2 separate regions of the Homo sapiens genome follow, and region 2 is linked to region 1. The links are contacts of gene promoters, found by promoter capture Hi-C in human tissues and cell types (Jung and others, 2019). All regions are on one chromosome and are shown on one strand. Each heading gives the region's core, a stretch centred on a gene start or on the middle of the fragment in contact. The rest is flanking DNA. Distances are from core to core; before and after follow the strand shown. Region 1 holds the start of TMEM200B (transmembrane protein 200B). Region 2 overlaps EPB41 (erythrocyte membrane protein band 4.1).

Region 1 (6,001 bases), core at 2,607-5,106:
TCCTGGGGAGGGTCCCTCCAAAGAGAAGTGGGCACTGATCAGCCTGGCTGTGCCTGTGGGCAGGTCGCTTTGCCTCTTCCAAACCACATATGTGAACTGGGCATAGCACTGACCTCCTGGAGCTCTCAAGAGAATTAAACAGGACATCTGGGAAAGGGGGCCCTTCCCTCCTCTGCCACCCCAGTGACCCCAGGGAAGGTTTCTACCCACCCCAAACACTACCCTCTGTACCTGAAACGTCATGATCAGAAGAGGGAGAGGTGTTTGCTGGAACCCACTTTGTGCCAGGCACTCAACATGTGAACCCTTTCTTAAATTTTTTTTTTTTTTTTGAGACCGAGTCTCACTTTGTCACCCAGGCTGGAGTGCAGTGGTGCCATCTCGGCTCACTGCAACCTCCGCCTCCTGGGTTCAAGCCTATATACCTCTTCTCTAAATCCTCTCAGGGTCCATAGAATCCTTTCCTGGACACTAAGTCTCCTTTGAAGAACTCATTTGTTTCCTTATTTGGTCATCTTTCTATTATACAAGCTTTTTTTTTTTTTTTCCTTTTTAGACAGAGTCCGCTCTGTCACCCAGGCTGGAGTGCAGTGGTACCATCTTGGCTAACTGCAACCTCCACCTCCTGGGTTCAAGTGATTCTCCCACCTCAGCCTCCTGAGTAGCTGGAATTACAGGAACCCACCACCGCGCCCAGCTAATTTTTTTTTTTTTTTTTTTTTTTTGAGACACAGTCTCGCTCTGTCGCCCAGGCTGGAGTGCAGTGGCACGATCTCAGCTCACTGCAAGCTCCGCCTCCCAGGTTCACGCCATTCTCCTGCCTCAGCCTCCCGAATAGCTGAGACTACAGGCGCCCACCACTGTACCCGGCTAATTTTTTGTATTTTTTAGTAGAGACGGGGTTTTACCGTGTTAGCCAGGATGGTCTCGATCTCCTGACCTCATGATCCGCCCACCTCAGCCTCCCAAAGTATTGGGATTACAGGTGTGAGCCACCGCACCCGGCTAATTTTTGTATTTTTAGTAGAGATGAGGTTTTACCATTTGGCCAGGCTGGTCTCGAACTCCTGACCTCAAGTCATCCTCCCATCTCGGCCTCCCAAAGTGCTGGGATTACAGGCATGAGCCACCAGGCCCAGCTTCTTTAAAAAAATTTTGAAACAGGATCTCACTCTGTCACCCAGGCTTTGCAATCATGGTTCACTATAGCCTCAAACTCCTGGGGTCAAGAGATCCTCCTGCCTCAGTCGCCCGAGTAGCTGGGACTATAGGCATGCGCCACAGTACCTGGCTAATTTTTAAATTTTTTTGTAGAGACAGGGTCTTGCTATGTTGCCCAGGCTGGTCTTGAACGCCTAGGCTCCAGTGATCCTCCCTCCTCAGCCTCTCAAAGTGCTGGGATTACAAGTGTGAGCCACCGCACCCGGCCACAGGTGAACTGTTATTTAACCTTCAAAACAACACTGTGGGGTAGGTATTATTTCTCCCTTTTTACAAATGAGGAGCCTGAGACAGAGAGGAGTCCTTTCTTTCTCCTGCTGTCTGGGCCAGGGCACCTGGCATGGAGATCAGGAAGGTATTCGGGCTGAAGGAGACACAGGCCTGCACACCCTCCTCTAATGGGGATGGCCAGCTGTGGGCAGACACTGTGCTGGGCACAGGGCTCCAGGGATGAGCAAGACAGACCTAGTCCTGCCCCCTCAGAGTCATGGCCAGTGGGGACACAGACAGGAAACAGACTCCACTCCCAGTGGGTTCAGTTTGCAGGTGCACAGGGAAGCTGCTGGTGTTGTGAGGGTGTACAACAGAGCAGGAGAGCGGGTACTGACCTGGTCTGGGGGCTGGGGGAAGGCCCAGGGTCTGAAGGATGTGTAGAAGGTGGCAAGGGCACGACCAGGGGGTAAGTGTTCCTGCCGGAAAGCAAGGACCAACCAAGCCCTGAGGGAGTGTAAGAGGCCCGGGGCCAGTTCGTGGAGACAAGAAGAGATTTCCAACTCGATTTGGGGAGTCACTGATGGTTTTAAGCAGGTAGTGGCAGGCTCAGATTCAGAGTGGAAACCCTTGCTGCCTGTCTGCAGCGCACTAGGACACGGGGAGGCAGGAGACCATGGGCTCCAGGAGGAGCCTGGACGCCGGAGCAGGACAGTGGCCATGGGAAAGGGAGAACGTGGCTGGCCCCAGATGAAAAGAGCAGGGCCCCCAAGGCTCTGTGAGTGGGATGAGAGGGGGAGAGGAAGGGGCCAAGGCTGACCCCGTGCTTGGGTGGACAAAGGGCCCTTCACAGAGCTGGAGGCAGGGGATGATCGAGGGGCCCAGGGAGTCAGACTAGAAGCCGGGCTTATTGGAGGAAGAGCAGTGGGCTGGGAGAGGCAGGCATGGAGTGGGATTGAGGGAGCCCAGGGGTGGGAGGGAGAGCTGGGAGGCGGAGGTGCGACCGCGGTGGGGTCAGTGTGCGGGGAGTGGACGAAGCGGAGGATTGATGGGGGCGGGGGTCCCAAGCAAAGATGCTGGAGGGAGGCCTCCGTGGAGCGGACCGAGACCTCAGGAGCCTCCAGTCGGACTGGGGAGGCAAGAAGGAGGCCCTGGCTTCGATCTCGCACACGGCCTCGCAGGGATGAAGCCCGGGAGCCGAGGCTCGGTCTTCCCCACTGTGGTCCCTCTGGTCCGCCCGTTACCTCACCGACCCCCCGAGGGGGCTTTTAAGAGCTGGAAGAGGGGGTCCCGGGGGGCACTGATGCACCCCCACTCTCCTCCGCCGACCCAGAGGGTGGGAGCTCAGGTTCAAGGCCTGGCCTGGCCGTGCGGCTCCGGGACCCGGCTCCGCCCCGCGTCGGGGGGTGGCCCCGGCCCCTGGCCCGCCCCTTCCTCGGGTCCCCTCCCTGTCCGCGGCGCGCAGCCGGGTCTCATTAGCGCCCCTCCCCCCGGCTGCGCGCCGGGGGTCTCCACGGCCGGGGGGAGGGGCGGGCCTTAATCAATCCTAGGCCGGAAATTCCTCCCGGGGGGCCCGGCCTGACCGCTGAGCCTGGAAATCGGTCGCCGCCTCCCCCGAACCCGCCCCCCGCATCATGGAAACTGGGCCGACCGCCGGCCGCCCTGGCTCCCCCGCTCTGCATTCCTGCCTCCAGGGGCGGGAGGGCGCGAAGGCCGGGCCGCCCCCTTCGGGCTCGCCGGCGGGGTCGCAGCTCTCAGCACCCTCCCCGTTATTGGGAACAAGCCCGCTCCCCCACTGGCGAAGGGGCGCCTGTTCTTAGGAGTACCCGGCGGCACATCCGCACCCCGTCCGGTCCTTTCAGCTACAAGGCCCGCCCCTCCCCGGGCGCTGCTTTCGCTGAGGGCTTTGCGGAGTCGCCCCGGGCTGGCCCTTGGCGTCTGGCTCTTGCCTCTCGGCATCTTGCGAGGCTGAAGCCTTGGTGCCCATTGCACAGATGAAGTCCGCGAGGTTCAGCGACAGCAAGGGCTGCGGGACCGGGGCAGAGCAGGGACTCGGGCCGCCTCCTCCTGGAAGCTCCCCGGGCGCCTGGGATGAGGGGCTCTGGGAAGCGGGGAAGGACGTGCGGGTGTCGGGGCTCCTGGGTCCCGGGTCTCAGTTTCCCCATGTAGGAAGGGGTCGCCTTTGTGGGCCTTTGCGACCGATGTAAGCTGGGGGTGGGAGAGTGGGGATGGCAGAACTCGGGCCACGGGTGCCCGGAGTCACCAGGCGCGCACAGGGCGCCTACCTGCGATCCTTTGACCTGAGCTGCCGCCTTTCAGCGGCGGTGGGGCCGGGCCCGGCGCGGGTCGGACGGTCCCGGGGGCTGGAGGCGGGGCCGGGGCGGGGCTGGGGCCGGGCCGTGGAGACCCGGGCGGCTCTGGAGCCTCCGCGCGCGGACTGGGACCCGGACCCGCGCGGCGCTGCGGCGCCAGGTGAGCCGAGCTGGGGTCCAGGGGTCCGCACTCCACTTTTCCCAACTTTTCGTTTGGTCCCTCCCTCCCTCCCTCCCTCCCTCGGTCAGGGCCCCTGGGGGCGGGAGCGCGGCCCTCCCGTTCCCCCAGGCGGGAGTGTGGACGCGGGCGGTGGCGGGACCCTGGAGTCCTGGGGACTCGGCCCCAGCATCTTCTGTCGGGCTGTGCGCTGTGTCCCCAAGTTTCCGCCTCCCTGGTGTCCCCAGCGTCGGCCCACTACCTCCACGGCTCGGGGTCTCTGAGCGTGTCCCCATGTCCCCACTCTGCTTGTTTTCGCTTCCCTCGCGGCAGCGACGCGCGGGGCTCCGGGTGACCTTGCTGGAGCCGGGGCTGAGAGCGCCAGTTCTGGCTTGAAGCGATGATCGCTCCTCCGGTTGCGGGCTGGGGAAAGGGCTGCAAACTCAGGGACAAGGAGGGGATGGGCCTCGCTTCCTCCTGGATACTCCCGTGGCTGTCCTGAGAGGGGTCTAGGGCTGGGGCCCCGGAGCCCGGCGTCGGACCTGGCAGAGCCCCCGCCTAGTGCGGGGTCGGGCAGTCTCCCCGGCCTCCCTGGGCCGTAGTTGCAATCTGTGAAACCAGGCTTTGGACGCGGGAGAGTGGCGGCTCCCTGCTAGGCCCGGGCCTTGAGCGCTCCAGTCGGAGGCAGGGATGGGTGTCCTGCTTTGAGGTTTGGGGTGCAGATGGGGCGTGGGTCGGGGAGCAAGGCCGCCTCCCCGAGGTTTCGGCTGCGGGCTCCAGCGCGGTGGTTCTTTAGGAAGCGGACGCGAGCAGTGAGGACGACCCTGGACAGCTAGGCCCTGAGCCTCCTCTCCTGCGGCCTGGGGCGCCTGGGCGGGGGCCGCGTCTTCTCCCTCGCCCTCCCTTTCGTGGGGGCCACACCGCACGCAGCTCGGCTACTCCTGCTGGGCCCGGGATCCAGGCCACAGGCCGCAGGCAGGGCGCGGCCAGCAATCGGGAGGGCTTAAGCTGTGCGGCCCGGATCCCGAGGCGCAGGGGCGGTGCTGCTCTGACCGGGCCACGGGCCACGGAGGCCTCGGGCGGAGGAGGCGGGAAAGGAGGCCAGGCGGCGGGAAAGGGGGATGATTCATCCGGAGGAGCCCGAATTGGAAACGTCGCAACCTGGGAACAGCCTTGCCCGGGCCGACGGGGGAGCCGGGAGGGCATCCGTCCGGCGGGGCCCAGCGCCCGGCACCGGCACCCCCGCCTGCTGCCGTGGCCCCAGCACGACCGCTGGGGGAGGGAGAGGCCTCTCATGCGTGGACTTGATGGAAATCTTGGGCGAAGTCGGCGCCGCCTCTCCTCCTCTGCCTGGCTGGTCTTGATCCGAGCGGTCTTCCCGGTGTCTAGCTCAAGTCGCTCCTGCTGCAGCTTCGCTGCGGGCGGAGGAGGTCTGGAAGGAGGGGGCGGGCAGGGAGAGGCTGGAGCCGGTGACGCCCCCTCCTCCCGCGCTGCGGTATGTAAAGCACAGTAGGGGGGAGGTGGGGCCCGGCGAGCGACCCCTGCGGACCTGGGAGGCCCGAGCGCCCCCGCCCCATTTGCTACGGTGCAGCCACGTGCGGGGGTGGGGTCGAGCCCGGGAGGTACTTACCCTGGAGACGCGGCAGCTGGGGGCCGCACGTTTCCCGAGGCCCAAGACCCGCGGGCTTGCGGACCGGACGCAGGCGGCAGATTTGCAGCCCGGGATGCGCCAGGGAACAGCCTGCGCCCCCCTCCCTCCTCTCCGCCCGCTGGCCGGGCCAACTCCGGCTTCTGCCGCGCGTGCCTGGCTCGGAGCTCCGCTGCGGAAAACCCGAGCGCGGGCGGCTCCCCGCCTCGCCGCCCGGGAAAATCCGGGGGTGGCCGCCAGGGATCTCCAAGCGGCCTGGGCTGGGCGGCCGGAGCTTCCCTCCCGGATTTGCGCCCCGAACCTGGCGCCCTGAAGCTAGAGGCCCGTCGGTCCAGTCCTTGCCTCCCATCTTCTCTCCGCAGAGCGCCCAGACGACGGCGAGATGACGGCCGGGAGCCCCGAAGAATGCGGGGAGGTGCGGAGGAGCCCCGAGGGCCGCGTCTCTCGCTTGGG
Region 2 (6,183 bases), core at 1,097-3,596, 36 kb after region 1:
AACCTCCAAGTAGCTGGGGTTACAGATGCGTGCCACCATGCCCAGCTAATTTTTGTATTTTTAGTTGAGACAGGGTTTCACCATGTTGGCCAGGCTGGTCTTGAACTCCTTACCTCAAGTGATCTGCCCACCATAGCCTCCCAAAGTGTTGAGATTACAGGTGTGAACCACTGTGCCCAGCCTGTTAAAGCTCTTAGAACGCCTCATCCAGATTACCACAAATGCCCTCAACGGTTTTTCTTCTTTCCTTTCTTCCTTCCTTCTTTCTCATCTCAAACCTTCCTTGAACGTGTCCTCTATTATGCTGCTAAAGTGCTTATTTCTAAAATTAAACACTGAAAATTCAGTTTTCTAGTTTAAAACCCTTCACTGGGTTTTAGTAAGACAGAAAATACTTTAAAATCTGACCCTTACCTCTCTCTCCAGCTTCATCCAGCTACAACTCCACATATATCCTTCTCCCCATTACTCCAAAACTATTTGTATTCCCTAGGACAGAGCATCTTTCTATTATCTCTGTGCCTTTGTAAATCTTATTCCTTCTGCCTGGAAGTCCACACTTAGCTCAACTGTCATTTCTTCTAGATTTTCCTTGGCTGCCTGAAGTATGTTTAGATACCAGTCCTCTTTGGTTCCCATTGTACCCTGTCATCACTGGCATATTCATCTGTCTTTTCCATTAGCCTATGAAATCCTTGGGGGATGAGAACTTGTTACTGTCTTACTTAGCTCTCTATCTTTCTTGTACAGTTTTTGGTATGTAATAGATGCTCAGTAAAAACGTGTTGAAGGTATGTTAGGTAAATCCAGGTCACTTGAGAACTTCTTCTTTGTCCTGTGCTATTCTGTAACTAAAATGTTTAGAAAAGCATGTTTAGGAAGAAATAAACAGTGGCTCATTTGACCAGACTCATAGTCTAGTCCAGCATTTTATCTCCTCCATCAGTAAAATAAGAGAAAACTAATATTTTTGTATGTTTACCATGTGCCAGGTGCTGTGCTAATCACTTGAGCATGTTTTTTCATTTAATTATTTACAGTATAATTATGAAGTAGTCATTATTTCTATTTTATAGATGAACAGATGAGCAGCTAGTGTTTAGACTCAGATCTATCTCTGGTTCTAAAGCCCATCTTCTTCCCATGACACCAGAAGGTATTTCAAGTAGGACCAAAGCACATGTCCTATTTATTTTACTTATGTATATATTTATTTTTTAGACATAGGCTCTCACTATGATGCTCAGGCAGGATTCAAATCCCTGGGCCCAAGGGATCTTCCCATCTGAGGCTCCCGATTAGCTAGGACTACAGGCACATGCCAGTGTGCCCAGCTTCAGGACATGTCCTATTATGCTCAAAATAACACACAGCAAACCCGACTTTAACTTTGAGACATACAAACAGCGCCCAAACTCCTCTTAACAGAGTCTGTTCTGAGTGGCTGACACTAGATTTTTACATATAAGAAGGCTGAGAAGCCAGAAGACAAGACTGGCCAGAAGAAAATATAAAGTCTCCATGACACAAGACACCCAGAATTTGGCATTTAATATCAGTAAAGAATTCTGACAGTGTTGTTGCCTTTGGCTGTGACCATCATCAAGGGCCATTGGATTATATAAGACTGCAACTGCACATACCAAATTAGCCTGAAAACTTTAAAGGGATCTTCTCAAGTAGAAGATGAATATATGGCTGTGTCTGAACCATCCTCAGTGACAAAAAGGCAAAGCTGAGACTTAATGTGATTCAAAGGTGTTAATCTAGATGTCGCTTACCTGAACTGATGGGGAATCTGTAAGAAAAAAGATGCTGGCCGGGTGCAGGGGCTCACACCTGTAATCCTAGCACTTTGGGAGGCCGAGGCGGGTGGGTCACCTGAGGTCAGGAGCTTAGGACCAGCCTAGCCAACATGGCGAAACCCCGTCTCTACTAAAAATACAAAAATTAGCCAGGCGTGGTAGCGCACGCCTGTAATCCCAGCTACTCAAGAGGCTGAGGAAGGAGAATCGCTTGAACCCAGGAGGTGGAGGTTGCAGTGAGCTGAAATCGTGCCACTGCACTCCAGCTTGTGCGACAGGAGGGAGGCTCCATCTCAAAAAAAAAAGAAAAAAAGAAAAAAAGAAAAAGGAAAAAAGATGCTATGATAGAAAGATTGGCTGCCTATATATATAAAGTACTGCAATGATATCTAGTTGGTTTTAATAATATGAAAAAAAGAATATTAGACAAATATTTAACTGAACAGAAACATTATTTGAAGATTCTCAATTTCATTTAAAAAGTCAATGGCTCCTGCTAAGTATGATAATTCAGTATTTTCTTTGTTTTGGGGAAGAAAACAAGATTTTTTTTCCTAAAGGCTTTCTCTCAAAAACTATTTATGCAAAGGGATTATGTCTCAGAATCATCAGACCCTGATTATATATATGCCTTTATGAGTTATAAATTACCCCTTTTTTGACCTATGAATTCCAGATATTATTAAAAGCAGGATATGGGCCGGGCGCAGTGGCTCACGCCTACAATCCCAGCACTTTGGGAGGCCAAGGCGGGTGATCATCGGAGGTTGGGAGTTCGAGACCAGCCTGACCAACATGGAGAAACCCCGTCTCTAATATAAATACAAAATTAGCCAGGTGTGGTGGCGCATGCCTGTAATCCCTGCTACTCGGGAGGCTGAGGCAGGAGAATTGCTTGAACCAAGGACGTGGAGGTTGCAGTGAGCTGAGATTGTGCCATTGCACTCCAGCCTGGGCAACAAGAGCAAAACTCCATCTCAAAAAAAAAGCAGGATATGGGTGTTTTATAGGTATTTTGCTGCCACTCCAACAAATGCAATCCAGAGTCTATTTCTTTTCAGGTTATTTTTGAAGTAAGGATTTACATATTTGAAGAGACTATCAAAAGAACCACAGTTGGCTGGGCACGGTGGCTCACACCTGTAATCCCAGCACTTTGGGAGGCCAAGGCGGGCGGATCACAAGGTCAGGAGATGGAGACCATCCTGGCTAACATGGTAAAACCCTGTCTCTACTAAAACTCCAAAAAATTAGCCGGGCATGGTGGCGGGCGCCTGTAGTTCCAGCTACTCAGGCTGAGGCAGGAGAATGGCGTGAACCCAGGAGGCGGAGCTTGCAGTGAGCCAAGATTGTGCCACTGCACCCCAGCCTGGGCGACAGAGCAAGACTCTGTCTCAAAAAAAAAAAAAAAAAAAAAAGAACCACAGTTAAGCTTACAAGAGTGTCTTATCCTTTAAGAGATCAAAGTGAAAATATATCCTGAAAATTTTTCTAAAATTTTGCTACATAAGAGCCATGTATGAGTACCTGTGTAGTAATTTTATCCCCACACATTTAGTCACTTGTTCCCCACTTAGTGAAGACCAATTTTACCTTTTAGTGGCAATAGAAAAACAACTCCTTTCTCTATTAAAAGGAAGAAAACACACTGCTATTGTCTCATTTTATCTTTCTATATAATTCAAAGACTAAATCCTCCTCTTGATCAGTTATGCTTCATTTCTTAGCCATTTAAAAATTATATTTTCCAATGTGTATAAATATACACATGAAAAGGATCTTAAGGTGGCCGGGCGCGGTGGCTCATGCCTGTAATCCCAGCACTTTGGGAGGCTGAGGCGGGTGGATCATGAGGTCAAGAGATCGAGACCATCCTGGCCAACATGGTGAAACCCCGTCTCTACTAAAAATACAAAAATTAGCTGGGTGTGGTGGCATGTGCCTGTAGTCCTAGCTACTCCGGAGGATGAGGCAGGAGAATCGCTTAAACCTGGGAGACGGAGGTTGCAGTGAGCCGAGATGGCACCACTGCACTCTAGCCTGGTGACACAGCAAGACTCTGTCTCAAAAAAAAAAAAAAAAAGGAAAGACAAAAGATTTTAAGGTGTACTAAAATATTAATAATCAAGGGATTGCAAACGATCTTTTTGTTTGTGGTTTTTCTCTATTTCCTAACCTTTCTAAAACAAGTATGTATTACTTTGGTAATAAAAAGTGATTATTTTCTTATGCAAGCACTTGTATCTGGTTTCAGTAGTGAAATGATCTTTAAAACCTGAAGAGTCTAGTAAACAATTTATGCAGAAAGTGCTAAAAAATCCTTAACATCTTCCAAGCCTTTTAAAAACAGTAAAAAATAAGCCTTAATAGGCTTCTAAAAGAAAAAAGTAGTTAGAGGAAAGAATTATAAGCTAGTAACTGGTATGTAATATAAAAGTTCTCTTTTATAAGGGGAATATAATATTAAACCTTGGTAATTTAGTTAGTTGGTTTTGAAAGTCAAAGTCAGCTGGGTGAGGTGGTTCACGCCTTTAATCCCAGCACTTTGGGAGGACGAGGCGGGCAGATTGCTTGAGTCCAGAAGTTCGAGACCAGCCTGGGCAATATGGCAAGACCCCATCTCTACCAAAAATACAAAAAATTAGCCAGGTGTGGTGGTGTATGCCTATATTCCCAGCCACTAAGGAGGCTGAGGTGGGAGGATCACTTGAGCCTGGCAGGTGGAGGTTGTAAACTTGGGGTAAAAAAGAAAAGAAAAGAAAGTCAAAGTCAATGATGATGAATTTAATATATCTGTATAACTGGTGGAAAAGAAATACTTCAAATTTAAGTTGTAGCTTCATTGTATTTTAATGTTTTCTGATTTAGAGGTAGAAGCGATATTATCAGGAAAGTGATTTAAAATGTGGTTTTTGGCCAGGTGTGGTGGCTCACGCCTGTAATCCTAGCAATTTGGGAGGCTGAGGCAGGCGGATCATTTGAGATCAGGAGTTCGAAACCAGCCTGGCCAACATGGTGAAACCCCATCTCCACTAAAAATACAAAAAAATTAGCCGGGCATGGTGGCGGGTGCCTGTAATCCCAGTTACTCAGGAGGCTGAGGCATGAGAATCACTTGAACCCAGGAGGCAGAGGTTGCAGTGAGCCAAGGTCATGCCACTGCACTCCAGCCTGGCAACTGAGTGAGACTCCAACTCAAAAAAAAAAAAAAAAAAAAGAAGATCAAAGTATTTCCAAAACTGATCTAAACAATAACTTTAGGTTAGTGATATACACTATAGATTGATTCTATCACATCACAATTCATATCCAGAATGATTTATATTTCTTAAAATATTACTTTTTGCAAAGTAACGTGAACCAAAGCAATAAAGACAGGAAGTCCCTACATGGTGTTTCTTGAACTCCTGAAGTGGGCCAAGCCTATGGATTTAACTAAAATTGGGCTTCCTTTCAGCTTTTGTTAGCAAGTTCTCAAACAGGTCCTCATTATATTTTAGAGAACATCACAACTTTGAAGAAAGAAATTGTGACAGGAGAATTAAAATGGGTATACTATGAGGCTATTTCATAAATATTCCCGAACCAAGATCCTCAGGAAGAATACCATTTATAATGGATAGTTTTGGGATACATACTGTCTGTTAAGAAAGAAAATAGAATATTTCTGATTAGTCACACAATTTACAACTATTTTAAAATGTCAGAGATTTATTACTGTTTCTAGCCTCAAAGCTTATCTTTCTATATTGCTATTACCCACACATTTGCTCCTTGAAATTACTAAATTTTCCTCAAAATGAGAGTCTGAGATTTAGCATATACCTCTGCAGTCACTTTACACAATTGTAATCCCCAATCCACTACATCCGTTAAGCTATACCATTGTTTTCCACATTATCTTCATTTTATTTTGCATTCTGTCAAGTAAAATGAGATTTAAGGCTGGCCTTGTAAGTACTGCTTAATGATATAACCAATGCTGTAATCAGTCACCATCATCTGTGCAATGACTTTGTGGCTTGCTGAAATGCAAATATGTGAGGAAAATTTAACACATAAAACTTTTATTAGTGTTTCTATACGTCTGGGAAAAGTGATTCATTAAACTTTTTAATAAGATTGACATAGATTGAGAAAAAGAAGTTTTGATAAGTAAAAGGAAGTGAACAGAGATGGCAGTGGGAATAGGGGATGAGGGTGCACAGACACACATACACCCACAGAGCACATTACCCTTGCTTTGCAAACCCAGTAAGAAATGCTTTGCAGTGCAAATGACCACAGAACCAGCAGGAATCGAGGTTATCTTGCTAAGCACAGAAGAAGATACCCAGCAGAAGAGTCCAGCTCCTGGTTCTTAACTAAAGTAAACAAT

What was found. The method cuts DNA at HindIII sites, captures the fragments that hold promoters and counts their contacts. A contact is called where the count stands out against the background at its distance.
Region 2: a fragment that was not itself captured here is called in contact with the fragment with the promoter of TMEM200B in region 1 in 1 of the 25 tissues and cell types used here (mesendoderm cells).

What each region holds. Positions count from the first base shown.
Region 1 is chr1:29,121,758-29,127,758 of GRCh38, reverse strand. It overlaps TMEM200B (transmembrane protein 200B), which reads left to right and starts at 3,856. Exons shown (of 2, transcript NM_001003682.4): 1 at 3,856-3,903; 2 at 5,911-6,001. The coding sequence starts at 5,931. RefSeq lists enhancers at 1,863-2,722, 2,723-3,582, 3,583-4,442. The HindIII fragment of the contact is 25,455 bases long and covers 1-6,001 here.
Region 2 is chr1:29,083,981-29,090,163 of GRCh38, reverse strand. All of the region lies in intron 16 of EPB41 (erythrocyte membrane protein band 4.1), which reads right to left. Among named protein-coding and RNA genes, the nearest start is that of TMEM200B, 37 kb to the left of the region's middle. The HindIII fragment of the contact is 7,588 bases long and covers 1-6,140 here.